3 separate regions of the Homo sapiens genome follow, and all the other regions are linked to region 3. Evidence: promoter capture Hi-C in human tissues and cell types (Jung and others, 2019). All regions are on one chromosome and are shown on one strand. Each heading gives the region's core, a stretch centred on a gene start or on the middle of the fragment in contact. The rest is flanking DNA. Distances are from core to core; before and after follow the strand shown. Region 1 has its middle 150 kb from the start of LPA. Region 2 has its middle 130 kb from the start of SLC22A3. Region 3 holds the start of SLC22A1 (solute carrier family 22 member 1).

Region 1 (4,524 bases), core at 2,001-4,500, 390 kb after region 3:
ACAGTGTGATGTTTCAATGCATGGATACACTGTATAAGGATCAAATCAGGGTGATTAGCATACTCCTCACTTCAAACATTTTTTCTTTGTGGTGAGAAGATTCAAAATTCTCTCTTCTAGTTATCTTGAAATACACAACACATAATCATGAACTATAGTCACCCTAGTGTATAATAGAACACCAGAACTTATTCTTTCTATCTAACTAGAAATTTGTACACATTGACCAACCCCTTTTCATTCTCCTCTCCCTGACTACCCTGCTCACCCTCTGGTAACCACTATTCTACTGTCTAATTCTGTGAAATCAAGATTTTACTAAGTTTTATTGATAAATAATAATTGCATATGTTCATGGAGTACACAGATATATTTCAATACAAATGATGTACAGAGATCAAAGAGGGGTAGTTAGCATATCAATCAATCACCTCAAACATTTATCACTCATTTGTTTTGGAAACACTCAATATCCTCTTTCTAGTTGCTTGAAACTATACAATATAATATTGTTAGCTAGACTCATCCTACAGCGGCATAAAACACTAGAACATATTTCTGATACCTAGGTGTAATTTTGTAGCCTTTAACAAATCTCTCCCTATTCCCCCTTTCCCCACTCTTCCAGACCTGGAACATCCTCCATATTACTTTTTACTTCTTTGATATAAGCTTTTTTAGCTGCCACATATTGTTACTGGCAGCAAATCCATATGGGTCTGCAGCAACCTCAATTGTTGCTTCCTTGGACGAAAGATTTTAAGAGGCAGGAGGCAAAAGGACAGCAGGAGTGACAGTTTATTTAAAAGCTTTAGAGCAGGAATGACAGGAAGAAAAGCACACTCGGAAGAGGGCCAGGCAGGTGACGAAAGGCAAGTGGGGTGGCTGGCAAAATGGCCGAATAGGAACAGCTCCATTCTGCAGCTCCCAGCGAGATCAACACAGAAGGCAGATGATTTCTTCATTTCCAACTGAGGTACCCGGCTTATCTCACTGTGACTAGTTAGACAGTGGGTGCACCTCATGGAGGGTTAGCAGAAGCAGGCTGGGACATCGCCTCACCTGGGAAGTGCAAGGGGTCAGAGAACTCCCTCCCCTAGCCAAGGGAATCCATGAGGGTCTGTGCCGTGAGGAATGGTGCACTCTGGCACAGATACTATGCATTTCCCATGGTCTTCACAACCCACAGACCAGGAGATTCCCTTGGGTGCCTATGCCACCAGGGCCCTGGGTTTCAAGCACAAAACTGGATAGCCATTTGGGTAGACACTGAGCTAGCTGCAGGAGCTTTTTTTCCATACCCCAGTGGTGCCTGGGATGCCAGTGAGACAGAACTGTTCACTCCCCTGGAAAGGGGACTGAAGCCAGGGAGCCGAGGGGTCCAGCTCAGTGGATCCCACCCCCATGGAGCCAAGCACCCTAAGATCTACTGGCTTGGAATTCTTGCTGCCAGCACAGCAGTCTGAGGTTGAACTGGGATGCTCCAGCTTGGTTGGGGGAGGGGTGTCCACTATTACTAAGCCTTGAGTAGGCGGTTTTCCCTTCACAGTGTAAACAATGCCCCTGGGAAGTTCCAAATGCCCCAATTAAAAGACACAGACTGTCAAAGTGGATAAAGAGTCAAGACCCATTGTGTGTTGTATTCAGGAGACCCATCTCATGTGCAAAGACGCATGTAGGCTCAAAATAAAGGGATGGAGGAATATTTACCAAGCAAATAGAAAGCAAAAAAGAAAAAAAAAAGGGGGGTGGGTGGGTTGCAATCCTAGTCTCTGATAAAACAAACTTTAAATGAACAAAGATCAAAAGAGACAAAGAAAGGCATTACATGATGGTAAAGGGATCAATGCAACAAGAAGAGCTGACTATCCTAAATATATATGCAATACAGTAGCTCCCAGGTTCATAAAGCAAGTTCATGGAGACCTACAAAGAGACTTAGACTCCCACACAAAAAATAGTGGGAGACTTTAATACCCCACTGTCAATATTAGACAGATCAATGAGACAGAAAATTAACAAGGATATTCAGGACTTGAACTCAGCTCTGGACCAAGCCAACCTAATAGACATCTACAGAACTCTCCACCCCAAATCAACAGAATATATATTCTTCTCAGCACCACATTGCACTTATTCTGAAATAGACCAGATAATTGGAAGTAAAACACTCCTCAGCAAATGCAAAAGAATGGAAATCATAACAGTCTCTCAGACCACAGTGCAATCAAATTAGAACTCAGGATTAAGAAATTCACTCAAAACAGCACAACTACATAGAAACTGAACAACCTGCTCCTGAAAGACTACTGCGTAAATATTGCAATTAAGGGAGAAATAAATAAGTTCTTTGAAACCAATGAGAACAAAGACACAACATACCAGAATCTCTGGGACACAGCTAAAGCAGTGTTTAGGGGGAAATTTATAGCACTAAATGCCCACAAGATAAAGAAAGAGGATCTAAAGTCGACACCCTAACATCACAATTAAAAGAACTAGAGAAGCAAGAGCAAACAAATACAAAAGCTAGCAGAAGATAAGAAATAACTAAGATCAGAGCAGAACTGAAGAAGATAGAGACAGGAAAAACCCTTCAAAAAATCAATGAATCCAGGAGTTGTTTTTTTGAAAAGATCAACAAAATAGATAGACCAGTAGCCAAACTAATGAAGAAAAGAGAAAAGAATCCGATAGACACAATAAAGAATGATAAAGGAGATATCACCACTGATCCCACAGAAATACAAACTACCATCAAGGAATACTATCAACACCTCTATGCAAATAATCTAGAAAATCTAGAAGAAATAGATAAATTCCTAGACAGATACACCCTCCCAAGTCTAAACCATGAAGAAGCTGAATTCCCTGAACTTGAATAACAAGTTCTGAAATTGAGGCAGCAATTAATAGTAACCAAAAAAAGTCCAGGACCAGATGGATTCAGAGACGAATTATATCAGAGGTACAAAGAGAAGCTGGTACCATTCCTCCTGAAATTCTTCCAAACAATAGAAAAAGAGGGACTCCTCCCTAACTCATTTTATGAGGCCAGCATCATTCTGATACCAAAACCTGGCAGAGACGCAACATAAAGAAAATTTCAGGCCAATATCCCTGATGAACATCTATGCAAAAATCCTCAATAAAATACTGGCAAACCTAATCCAGTAGCACATCAAAAAGCTTATCTACCATGATCAAGTCGGCTTCATCTCTGGGATGCAAGGCTGGTTCAACATACACAAATCAATAAGGGTAATTCATCACATAAACAGAACCAATGACAAAAACCACATGATTATCTCAATAGATATAGAAAAGGCCTTCAATAAAATTAAATAGCCCTTCATGCTAAAAACTCTCAATAATCTTGGTATTGATGGAACATACCTCAAAATAATAAGAGCTATTTATGACAAACCCATAGCCAATATCATACTGAATGTGCAAAAGCTGGAAGCATTCCCTTTGAAAACCAGCACAAGACAAGGATGCCTTCTCTCACCACTCCTATTCAACATAGTATTAGAAATTCTGGCCAGGGCAATCAGGCAAGAGAAAGAAATAAAGGGTATCAGATGGAAAAAGATGAAGTCAAATTGTCTCTGTTTGCAGATGACATGATTGTATATTTAGAAAACCCCATCATCTCAGCCCAAAATCTCCTTAAGCTGATAAGAAACTTCAGCAAAGTCTCAGGATACAAAATCAATGTGCAAAAATCACAAGCATTCCTATACACCAATAATAGACAAAGAGCCAAATCATGAGTGAATTCCCATTCACAATTGCTACAAAGAGAATAAAATACCTAGGAATACAACTTAAAGGGATGTTAAAGACCTCTTCAAGGAGAACTACAAACCACTGCTCAAGGAAATAAGAGAGGACACAAACAAATGGAAAAAAATTCCATGCTCATAGACAGGAAGAATCATGAAAATGGCCATATTCCCCAAAGTAATTTATAGAGTCAATGTTATCCCCATCAAGCTACCATTGACTTTCTTCACATAATTAGAAAAAACTACTTTAAATTTCATATGGAACCAAAAAGATCCCATATAGCCAAGACAAGCCTAAGCAAAAAAAAAAAACAAAAACAAAAACAAAAAAAAAACAAAGCTGGAGGCATCACGCTTCCCAACTTCAAACTATACCACAAGGCTACAGTAACCAAAACAGCATGGTACTGGTACCAAAACAGATATATACACCAATGAAACAGAACAGAGCCCTCAGAAATAACACCAAACATCTACAACCATCTGATCTTTGACAAACGTGACAAAAACAAGCAATGGAGAAAGGATTCCCTATTTAATAAATGGTGTTGGGAAAACTAGTTAGCCATATGCAGAAAACGGAAACTGGACCCCTTCCTTACACCTTATACAAAAATTAACTCAAGATGGATTAACGACTTAAACATAAAACATAAAAACATAAAAACCCTAGAAGAAAACCTAGACAATATGATTCAGGACATAGGCATGGGAGAAGACTTTATGACTAAAA
Region 2 (5,001 bases), core at 1,284-3,783, 360 kb after region 3:
TAAGGTATTTCTGGAGTAGCCTTTATTCTAAGAAGGCATAAATCCTGCTCCTAAAGTATGACTTTCCTGGGGTCTCTACTGAATGCCCGAGATGTTCAATGAGGTGTCTCTCCTTAGGCTGATCAGAACCCCAGTATCCCCCAGTGCTACGTGAGCTCTGGCGTCACCATTGAGCTCACTGTTTCCCTGAATTTGTCCTTTCCCCAGTAGTGGTTCTCTGTCCCACTTTGTAGAATTTCTCCCTGTGCATATGCAGTTTATATTAGACTTCCATGCATATTCCTTCAGCTCCTTTTCACCACAAATTCTTTCTCATTATTACCTAGCATAGAAAATACACATTTTCTTAGCTATCCCAAACTCCAGTCTCTTTCCTCAGTTCAGCAAGACTGCTGTGGTTGGCTTTGGCTCCAATTCCTTGCCCTTCAGTCCAGGAAGGTTCTCCAGGAAGAAAGTCATAATAGTTATGGAGTTGCGCTCATTCATTTCCTTTTCTAAATTATCTCAGTCCTGTACTGTCTCTTGTCCAACATGTGGAAAGTTTTTTTGTATATCTTTTGTAGTCTTTTATGGCAGAAAGCCAGTTTTTGTCAGACCAGGTTTTTTGTCCATGTACCGGCCCGTTTTAATCTGTACATCTGTTTACTTCCTGACTGACTCTCATCTACGTTCTTGCTTTTGCTCTTCCTGTCCTGGCAACCCATATCCCTTCAGAAAACTGGAGCTTAGAACCCAGTGTGTTCACACAGGTGTATATATATAACTATATATAACTATATATATATATACACACACACACATAGTTATATTATGTGTGTGTGTGTGTGTGTGTGTGTCCTGCAGATTGTATAGCTATATAGCCTGCAGCTGTGCAGACTATAGGGTGATTGGTCATCAGTCAGGGACAGACATGAAAACCTTGCACATTTCCCTAGACCATATATGAATACTTGCCTGTATGAACACATATATGAATACCAACCTATATGAGCACATATATATGAATACTAGTCTGTATGAACACACCTGGTTCTATATATATGCACACACATGTGAATTATTTACTTGTGACCCATGACAAAAATGGCAAACCCAACCTTCACTTCAGGGAAGGGAGGTTAGAATGATAGAATTGCATGGGTGAAAGACTGCATTGATCTTTTATGAGCCTTGTAGAATGGCACTCTATTTGATCGTTTGTTCTCCTGAGCTTTATATTAAAAAGACCTCATCAGCTCCATGTAGCCTTCTGCTTCCATCAGACTATTAGAAAAGATAGCAAGCCTAAAATACCTATTCTCTCAGACTCTTTGATCAAAAGCAAAGTTGTTTGGACATTTTGACACACCTTCTGGGTCTAAGGGAAATTTGTCCTAACAAGTTAGCTTGAAGCAAGGCTCTTCTAGGAGGAACTTAAGTTGGCTGTTGCTCCTCTTACAAGTAACATCAAAGACATACTCATTTGGGTAGTTTTCTGGGGTCCTCTGATGCCGGTGTGGTGTCATGGATGACCAAGATTGACATGTCCTTCCTGTGACAGTGGTGGAGAATGTGCCTTGATAACTCTGTCCATTACCATGGTAGCACTGCCGGACCACAGGGGTTTGCTCAGTTGGTGCTGAAAATAGTCAAAATCAAGCTCAGTAATTACTAGTACGCAGAAACATGTGAAGCAATTTATGACACAAACAGGACAGTAGTTTCAGAATTATGACTGTTCTCTTCAGAATACTCGCAAGCAGAAGGACATGCTGAAGCAAAAACAATAGATTAATAGCATTCTAATATTTTAATAAGTTCTTAGAAATGTTATATTCAAAATCTGGTGGGGAAAGGACCTATCAGTGTTCTTACAATTGCAACTAAGACTCATGTGCAAGCTCTTTTGTGTGGCTCTCTACTGATTGTTCATGAGAACAACAAGGCAGGAAACCAGACAGTGATGGATTAGGCCATGCAGGCTGTTGGGTGATTGGCTGTCAGTGGGGGACAGACAGGAAAACCTTGCACATTTCCCTAGACCATTGCTCCTGAAAAGCCAAAGCCTTAAGCTTCTGGTGGACGGGGCAGTTCATGGTCCTGCATCTAGTACTTGCAGGCAAAGACACATTGCTTCTTAGAGAAGGATGGAGACTAAAATCTTATTCCCTTACAGGAGAGACAGGGAATCCTCTTGTTCCAGCACCCTGCATTGCAACAAAGCAGAAGTCTACTACCTTTCCTCTCAACACACACCAAAGATGCACGTTCCACGAGAAGAAGGCGCAAGAACACCAAGAAATTCCTGCCTTCCAAGCATAGGTGTGCAGAGCCTACCTAAGACTAAGATAAGCCAGAGAAATAATGCATTCTGTGGTTATGTAGTGTCAAATAGCCCCAGGATTAGATGGAATAAATGTCATCATATTAGGTTTCTCCAGGATGACAAACTCAGCGGCCACATACCTCAGCAACCACAATGCAATGATTGCAATGAACACTGCCCATTTTACGAAAGGCCTGGAAACACTCACTGGTGTGAAAATTGGCACAAATTTGGCCGGACGTTAGAACTGGAATTTTGTCTAGGACACCAAGATAACTCACTTAACAAGATGAGTGGTAAGTCAAGCGCCCTGGAGGGTTGCACCCTTCCTAAAGACACCATTGACTAGCATTGCACCAAAAATTACACCTCTTGCTAGAGCAGAGAGGGTGCTGAGGCTTCCTTATGCACGGCATAACCTCAACCAACCATCAAGTTTCTCAGTAGCATGGAAGGCTTCTGCATCTGTCAGATTTTAAATCTTTTCATCCCAATGTTCAAATGTGTAGATGTCTGGCCACAGACTTCTTACCTGCTTCAGAATGAGCCTCCATGCTTGGAACTGGAACAACAGTGGGAGTCTCTAGGACACTGATTCTGTTTCTGAGCATTGTGTCAGGTTGCAGTACTCCCACCTCACACACGGATCAGTTGTGTAACACCAGGGTTGTTTCCCAGAATCTGGATTCCTGCAGTAGTTCCTGGTCAGGCCACTGCAAATTCCAGAACAATACAGGTTACAAGAGATGGTAAAAAATTCAGGGGCACCCAGCACTGTCTAAATTTTGTTACAATAAAGTGTTAAAAAGTGACATTTGAATATTCCCATTTTAGGTAAAATGATATTCCCAAGGCAAAAATGGTCCTCAAGTTCTAAAGAAGAGTGTAAATTTCCAAGATAGATTATAATGTATATTTTAAAAAATCAAAAATAGTCTATGCTCCATTTAAAAACTGAGATCATGCATAAACGTACACAAGAAAAAAATTAGAGCTGGGTGCGATGGCTCACACCTGTAATCCCAGCACTTTGGGAGGCTGAGGCAGGCAGATCACCTGAGGTCGGGAGTTCGAGACCAACCTGACCAATACGGAGAAGCCCTGTCTCTAGTAAAAATACAAAATAAGCTGGGAGTGGTGGTGGGTGCCTGTATTTCCAGCTACTTGGGAGGCTGAGGCAGGAGAATCCCTTGAGCCCAGGAGGCAGAGATTGCAGTGAGCCGAGATCGCACCATTGCACTCCAGCCTGGGCAACACAAGCAAAACTCCATCTCAAAAAAAAAAAAAAAAGGGAAAAAGATCAGAATATGTTTCTCCTTCTGCCAACTGCATTCCTCCAGAAAACTGATGTGGATTTTTTAAGTGTGCATCTTAGATTTTATTAATGCACATAAAAATATATAATATATTGATATCTGTCTACTTCTTTATATCCTTCTTTAGGACTCTACAGTAACATGTAAATTGGAATCAAAATATATTTCTTCAGGGAAGAAATGGCATCCAACATGACACCATTCCCAGGCCAGCCCCCTTACTCTATGTATTCGCAGAGGAGTCAGAAAACAATGGAGTAAGAGGCAAAGGTGGTGAGTAACCCGCGATGGGTGTATCTTGGAGCATTTGCTCCCCCTTATGAATCCCAGGAACATTGCTCCAACCTCTCAGTATTCTCGCATTCATGACCTGTGGCTGTCTGTGAAAACGGGAAATGTATTATGTGCCATGGGGATCCAACACTCTCTCTCAAGAGACTACACATGTGACCTAGTCTCAAGCACAGACCCTCCATTCAAGAAGCTTGTTCTCTGAGCATTTGGATGTGCTCAGAGCCGAGCAGTTGACTTATTTTTCTTCCTTGGCTGCCTTCTTTTTGACATATGGAATATTCTTGTCATAGAATATACCTCAGTGTTCACAATTTTGTGATTACTCTAGAATTTGCAATATCTCTTTGAACCCAAATATTTCAAACTTTTATTATGTACCATCATAGGTAAGGCAAGAAACTTACAATGGTATAATTCTTTATTCCCTACACGATTTATGCTACATTTTCAAATTTTTACTTCAAATATGCTAAAATAATACATATTGCTGTCATTTTGCTTCAAGCAGTCAAATATAATTTAAGGCAATTACGAAATTTGATCAAGAAAATATTTTTGCATTTACATCTACATTTGCCATTTGCTGGGTTCTTCAATACGTGGGATGCAGAAAGTTCCCACCTTGTACTATTCTTCTTGTACGTAATTCCCTTTGGGCCACATCTTTTGTGACATAAGCCTGCTGATTCCAAATTCTCATAGCTTTCGGATTTCTTGTTTGGGGGGTGCACAAAATGCAATTATACAACATTGATGATTTTCAAGGCAGTGTATAGCTGGATGTAGCATTCTCGGTTGATCTCTTCTTTTCCCTGTTTATCATTTTAATGATATTCCTTTGCCTGCAGTTTGCCATGTTTCTGATGAGAACACATTAGCCATTTGTATCACCGTTCCTCTAGCAAGACACAGCTCTTTTTCCTACAGTTTCTCACAAGATATTTCTTGATACTATATCTTTGTCTTCTGAGAGTCAAACTGTGATGTACCAAAGTGCTTCATACAGTTTTCTTTTTGAAAATTCCCTTTCTGATCCACTGAGCCTATTGAATCTGTAATTACTTAACGTTCTTCATATTAGGAAGG
Region 3 (4,872 bases), core at 1,130-3,629:
AACAAGATAAAGGATCAACAGTATTCCAAGCAAAAGGTCAAAACAAGATTGCTTCAGTCTTCTATTAGTTCAGCTCACCCAGTCAACTCCTATTCACAATCTCCAAAATTATCAGAAATCTGCATTTGAAGACTATAATCCATCCCTTGAAGAGGATCAAAACATGACAACAATTGTCTGTGAATGTCAAAATGTCCTAGCGTATTCATAGTCAAAAACACAATTGATGAAGAAATCTGGTCACCTCTGTGATTTACAATAACCTAACACAATAACCCTAGCTATGATTGATAACACAAACTCAGGCATCAGAAATCTAGAAATCCCATACAATTTTGAAACACACATTAACATTTTTCACTAAAATATAACCTGAAGATCAAACACCTTATTTTGGTAATCCTATGTAACTAAACTTGTCAAATAACCCTGTTTACCTCTCCCTTTCGATGCTCCAGGTGTCTTCTGTAGCATCCAAAACTCAGGGGTTAGGAAAGAAAATTTTGAAGCTGTAAAGGCTCAAAACACTTAACAGAATTTTTGGTTACTATAAGTCATTCATTTAAATGACTCAAAGCAAAAACCTTCAGTCACTAAGAGGGAAGACCTAATTTTCCAAACAATCTAACTTTTAACCATCGCACTCCTTTTTAAGAAGTCCTTTTAAGTCTCTTATTATCCAACTTTAGCCATGCCAAATGGCCAGTTGAATTCATGGAGGGGCAGAGAATATAGTGATTTTTTTATTGTTCCTGCAACCAGTTTGCACAGAGAGAGAAACCAAAAGTCTGACTGGTAAGAACTTTTACCCTTTCGCCAGCATGTCAGGCTGCTGAGCTCCCTTCCCCTCAGCTATGGAGCCCTATTGACCCTGGAGTCCTGTTGATCTCTTGTCCTTCCCTTCTTGTGTCAGTAGCTTATTCACAAAGAAAACAAAATCTTTCATTGCATGAAAATCTTGTTCAAGTGAAAGCCAAATTTTACCCTTACATTAGTCTATTAATGTCAACCCCAATTAAAAAAAATAAAACCTTACAGAGAAATCCATCCAATCTTAATCAGTTTGATCATGAACTGAGATTGTTATAAATCTTTTATAACCTTTTACAAATTTTTTTTGTTAAACAGCATGTAAGTGCTTCAAGAAAACCTTGTTGTGCTTGTATTCCATTGTTCAACTTATGGAAAACCAAATAATATCCTTTTTAGTGTAGTCAATATGTTTACACACAGGATTCCTTTTACAAGATTAATTTTTTACAAACCTTCCATAACTTGTTTGAACCTTAAGCTTTATCTTATATAATTTAAAACAATCATTTAACCCTCTGAACTAGGCAAAAATTTACATTCCCATGCCTTCTTATATTATTTTACTAATGATACATTTTACTCTCCTTACTCACCTCACGTGTAGATCTGTTTTCAGTAGTCATCACTACATGTTATAATGGTAGCTCTTAGTAATTGTTAATTTTGGTGAAATACCCAGTAAGTTATTTTAGTTACGTACTTAGGTGCAGATGAGGTCTAACTATTTCCAGCATAGCTAGGGCAGGCCCTACCAAACTGCAAAGCAGGAAAGTTGAACAATTTTCAAAAGCCAAAGCAGTTTATGACCTTAAAGCATTTAGTCAACCTAGTTTCTGACTTGCATAATTTAGACCATGTCTATATTTTGAAGACATTTCTATTTTCATTTTACTGATAATTTAAAAGACAGCCTATTTAGCAAAGTCATACTTAAGTGAATTTGAAAATTGCTTAGACTTATTTACTTAATTTATGAACACTCTTTTACTTATAAGCCAATTTGGTAGACACAACATATAACAGTAAGTGTACATACAAGTAAACACATCTAGACATGTATACACACACACAAATGAAGAGGTGGAGCTTAAAACACCCAAATTGGGTGCAGTGTATACTGCTTGGGAGATGGATGCACCAAAATCTCACAAATCACCACTAAAGAACCTGCTCATGTAACCAAATAATACCTGTTCCCTCAAAACCTATGGGAAAAAAAAACTAAAAAAAATACTTAAATGGTATCACAGAACTAATTAGCCGAATACAGTATCTAGTACCTGGCTGTCACCCAATACTTGCCTCATACCATCACATCTAGAAAACAAGTAGATATTCTTTTTGGAAGAGCCCTGAGGGAGCTACTAGGAGGTTTGCACGGCCTGCTCTCCTGCCCTCTTCTTGCTCTGTGGCTGAACTTCAATTCTCTTCGGGCTTAGACCCCACTGACTCGCTCCCGGGCAAAGCAAACGATTTGATCAGATGGCCACGTGCATTCTTCCTTTTCCTGAAACCAGCACCATAGGGTAAAAGATTATTTCTACTTGGTTGCCTTCCAGATGTTTCACACTTGGACAGCAAACTGATTTCAAACCACTCCTTTTCAAAGATCTCTGAGGGAGACATTGCACCTGGCCACTGCAGCCCAGAGCAGGTCTGGCCACGGCCATGAGCATGCTGAGCCATCATGCCCACCGTGGATGACATTCTGGAGCAGGTTGGGGAGTCTGGCTGGTTCCAGAAGCAAGCCTTCCTCATCTTATGCCTGCTGTCGGCTGCCTTTGCGCCCATCTGTGTGGGCATCGTCTTCCTGGGTTTCACACCTGACCACCACTGCCAGAGTCCTGGGGTGGCTGAGCTGAGCCAGCGCTGTGGCTGGAGCCCTGCGGAGGAGCTGAACTATACAGTGCCAGGCCTGGGGCCCGCGGGCGAGGCCTTCCTTGGCCAGTGCAGGCGCTATGAAGTGGACTGGAACCAGAGCGCCCTCAGCTGTGTAGACCCCCTGGCTAGCCTGGCCACCAACAGGAGCCACCTGCCGCTGGGTCCCTGCCAGGATGGCTGGGTGTATGACACGCCCGGCTCTTCCATCGTCACTGAGGTAAAAAAGCCTCTGTAACATGGGAGTTCCTGGGACAGGGAGAAATATAAAGCAAATCCTATGAAGTTCAGTTCCATATCAGGAAAGAGGTAGGGGGCTATGTTTATTGTGCAGTTCGTGGGTGTCTGGCTGTGTCCCAGGCACGGGGCATTCTCTTCTCTAGTTTAATCCACCACAAACTCTGGGTCTTTGAGGAGGAAGCTGAGGCAGGAGAGAACAGCTAGCACAAGTCGGGGGCCAGGTTGCCAGGTTGCTTGAATGGGAGTTGACTGGGAGACCAGGAGCCTCTCTGCCTGCCCCACTGGCTTCTCCCAGAACTATCAACTTGCTCTGGGTCCCGCTTCCCCACCAATAGTACTGTGGGCCCCCTCCTTCTGCTCAAGAGTGATGACGATTGACCTCAATGATGGTGTTGAGGTGGCCTGGAATTGCCCTGGCTTGGAAGTGAGAATATTTGGTGGAATCCCAGCTGTGCCCCTTATTAGCTGAGCATCACTGGGTAAGTCACTGCCTCTCTAAGCCTCATTTCCTCATCAGTCAACCAGGGATGATGACGGCTGCCTCATAGGGGTGTGAGCTTCAGCTGGGATCTGTGAAAGCACTGAGCAAATCCAAACTGAGTCACACCGTGCAGTCCGATGGGGCCCATGGGATAGGGCGATGGCCTCAAAAGGGCCTTGCTTGAGTAGTTTACTTGGTTATTTGAGCATTTTGCTTTGAGAATCCTTTAGTAAAAAGTGTCACCACATTTTTTTCCCATCATGAGCCCTTTTGAAACTATTGCACGGTAACAAGTGTGGATGCTTGGTGGGTTGGAGAAGCTGTGGGCCAAAGCCCGTCAGGGGCCTTCTGTTAGTAACGAGCAGTGGCGTGGTTTTGGTGCAGGCACTGCTTCCCTGAAATAAGAGGTAACTGGGCCCTCCCTGCCTCTGGTCCTGCCCACTTGTCTGCCCCCACTACCCTCGCCCAAGCTCTCCGGACTTCTTGGGTCTCTGTTCTTCCTCTTTTCCCTTTCCTGAGTGGTATCAGCGGTGACACATTTAGGGCTATTACTGGAGGAAAGCTTAGGGTCCCTCCCCTCTGGGCCTGAGCATTGCTCTACCTGCTTGCCTGGAGCAGAGCAGGTGCCGGTGCAACTGGCTTTACGATGCTGAAGAGACATCTTGTCTCCAAGGCATCCTCCAACAATGGATGACAAGTTAGGCAGCCCACCTTCCAGGGATCTCCAACCATCTGACATTCCCACTGGGAATCTAGAAGCAGACCAGGATGAGGATGTGTTTGCTCTCTGGGACTGAGACATACTCTGCTTTGAGGAGATCAGATGTGATCATTCCTCCAGTCAGACATCCACCCAGTATGTTCGGCATACTCCCTCTATTCTGGCACTGGGTGTGATGCCGCAGGGGAGATGCAGAAGAAGATTGTGAGGTCCCTCAAGGAGTCTGCAGTCTTGTGGGGACTGAGAGGGGAAGAGGATGGCAAGAATGAGACCAGTGTTCGTTTAATGACAGCCCAAGGCCGCCTGTGGTGAATGCCATGAGCAGGGCGGAAAGGGACTGGTGGGCTCTAAGAAGGTAGAGATCTCAGCTGCTGAGCTCTGAGCTGATCATAGACGTCTTCTGGGAGGAGGTGGCTTTGAGCTGAGCCTCAGCTGGTATTTGGACCAGCAAGGAGAGGGGACAGGTGGAGTAGAGGGGAGGGGAAGTAGATCCCCAGACCAAGGGGAGAGCTTGAGCCTAGGCTCAGGGCCCAGGGAGTGTTTGCTGCATTCAGGGTGCAAGGAGCACTGATATGAGGGTCATGATATGAGGAGTTGTGGGGAGAACACTGGTGTCTAACCTTGGGGCCAGAACACGGAGTGCTTAGTGTGGGGTTGCCAGGTACAATACAGGATGCCCAGTTAAACTCGAACATTTGAACTTCAGATAATCCAACTGGATAGGATACTTACTTCCCAG

Evidence for each region. The method cuts DNA at HindIII sites, captures the fragments that hold promoters and counts their contacts. A contact is called where the count stands out against the background at its distance.
Region 1: a contact is called between a fragment that was not itself captured here and the fragment with the promoter of SLC22A1 in region 3, in 1 of the 25 tissues and cell types used here (aorta).
Region 2: a contact is called between a fragment that was not itself captured here and the fragment with the promoter of SLC22A1 in region 3, in 1 of the 25 tissues and cell types used here (H1 embryonic stem cells).

Annotation. Positions count from the first base shown.
Region 1 is chr6:160,512,506-160,517,029 of GRCh38, forward strand. No RefSeq gene overlaps it. Among named protein-coding and RNA genes, the nearest start is that of LPA, 150 kb to the right of the region's middle. The HindIII fragment of the contact is 5,020 bases long and covers 741-4,524 here.
Region 2 is chr6:160,475,671-160,480,671 of GRCh38, forward strand. It overlaps the pseudogene LPAL2. Among named protein-coding and RNA genes, the nearest start is that of SLC22A3, 130 kb to the left of the region's middle. The HindIII fragment of the contact is 4,217 bases long and covers 426-4,642 here.
Region 3 is chr6:160,119,436-160,124,307 of GRCh38, forward strand. It overlaps SLC22A1 (solute carrier family 22 member 1), which reads left to right and starts at 2,380. Exons shown (of 11, transcript NM_003057.3): 1 at 2,380-2,911. The coding sequence starts at 2,501. LOC124901452 (a long non-coding RNA gene) reads right to left here and starts at 2,260. Exons shown (of 2, transcript XR_007059842.1): 1 at 1,407-2,260. The HindIII fragment of the contact is 5,449 bases long and covers 638-4,872 here.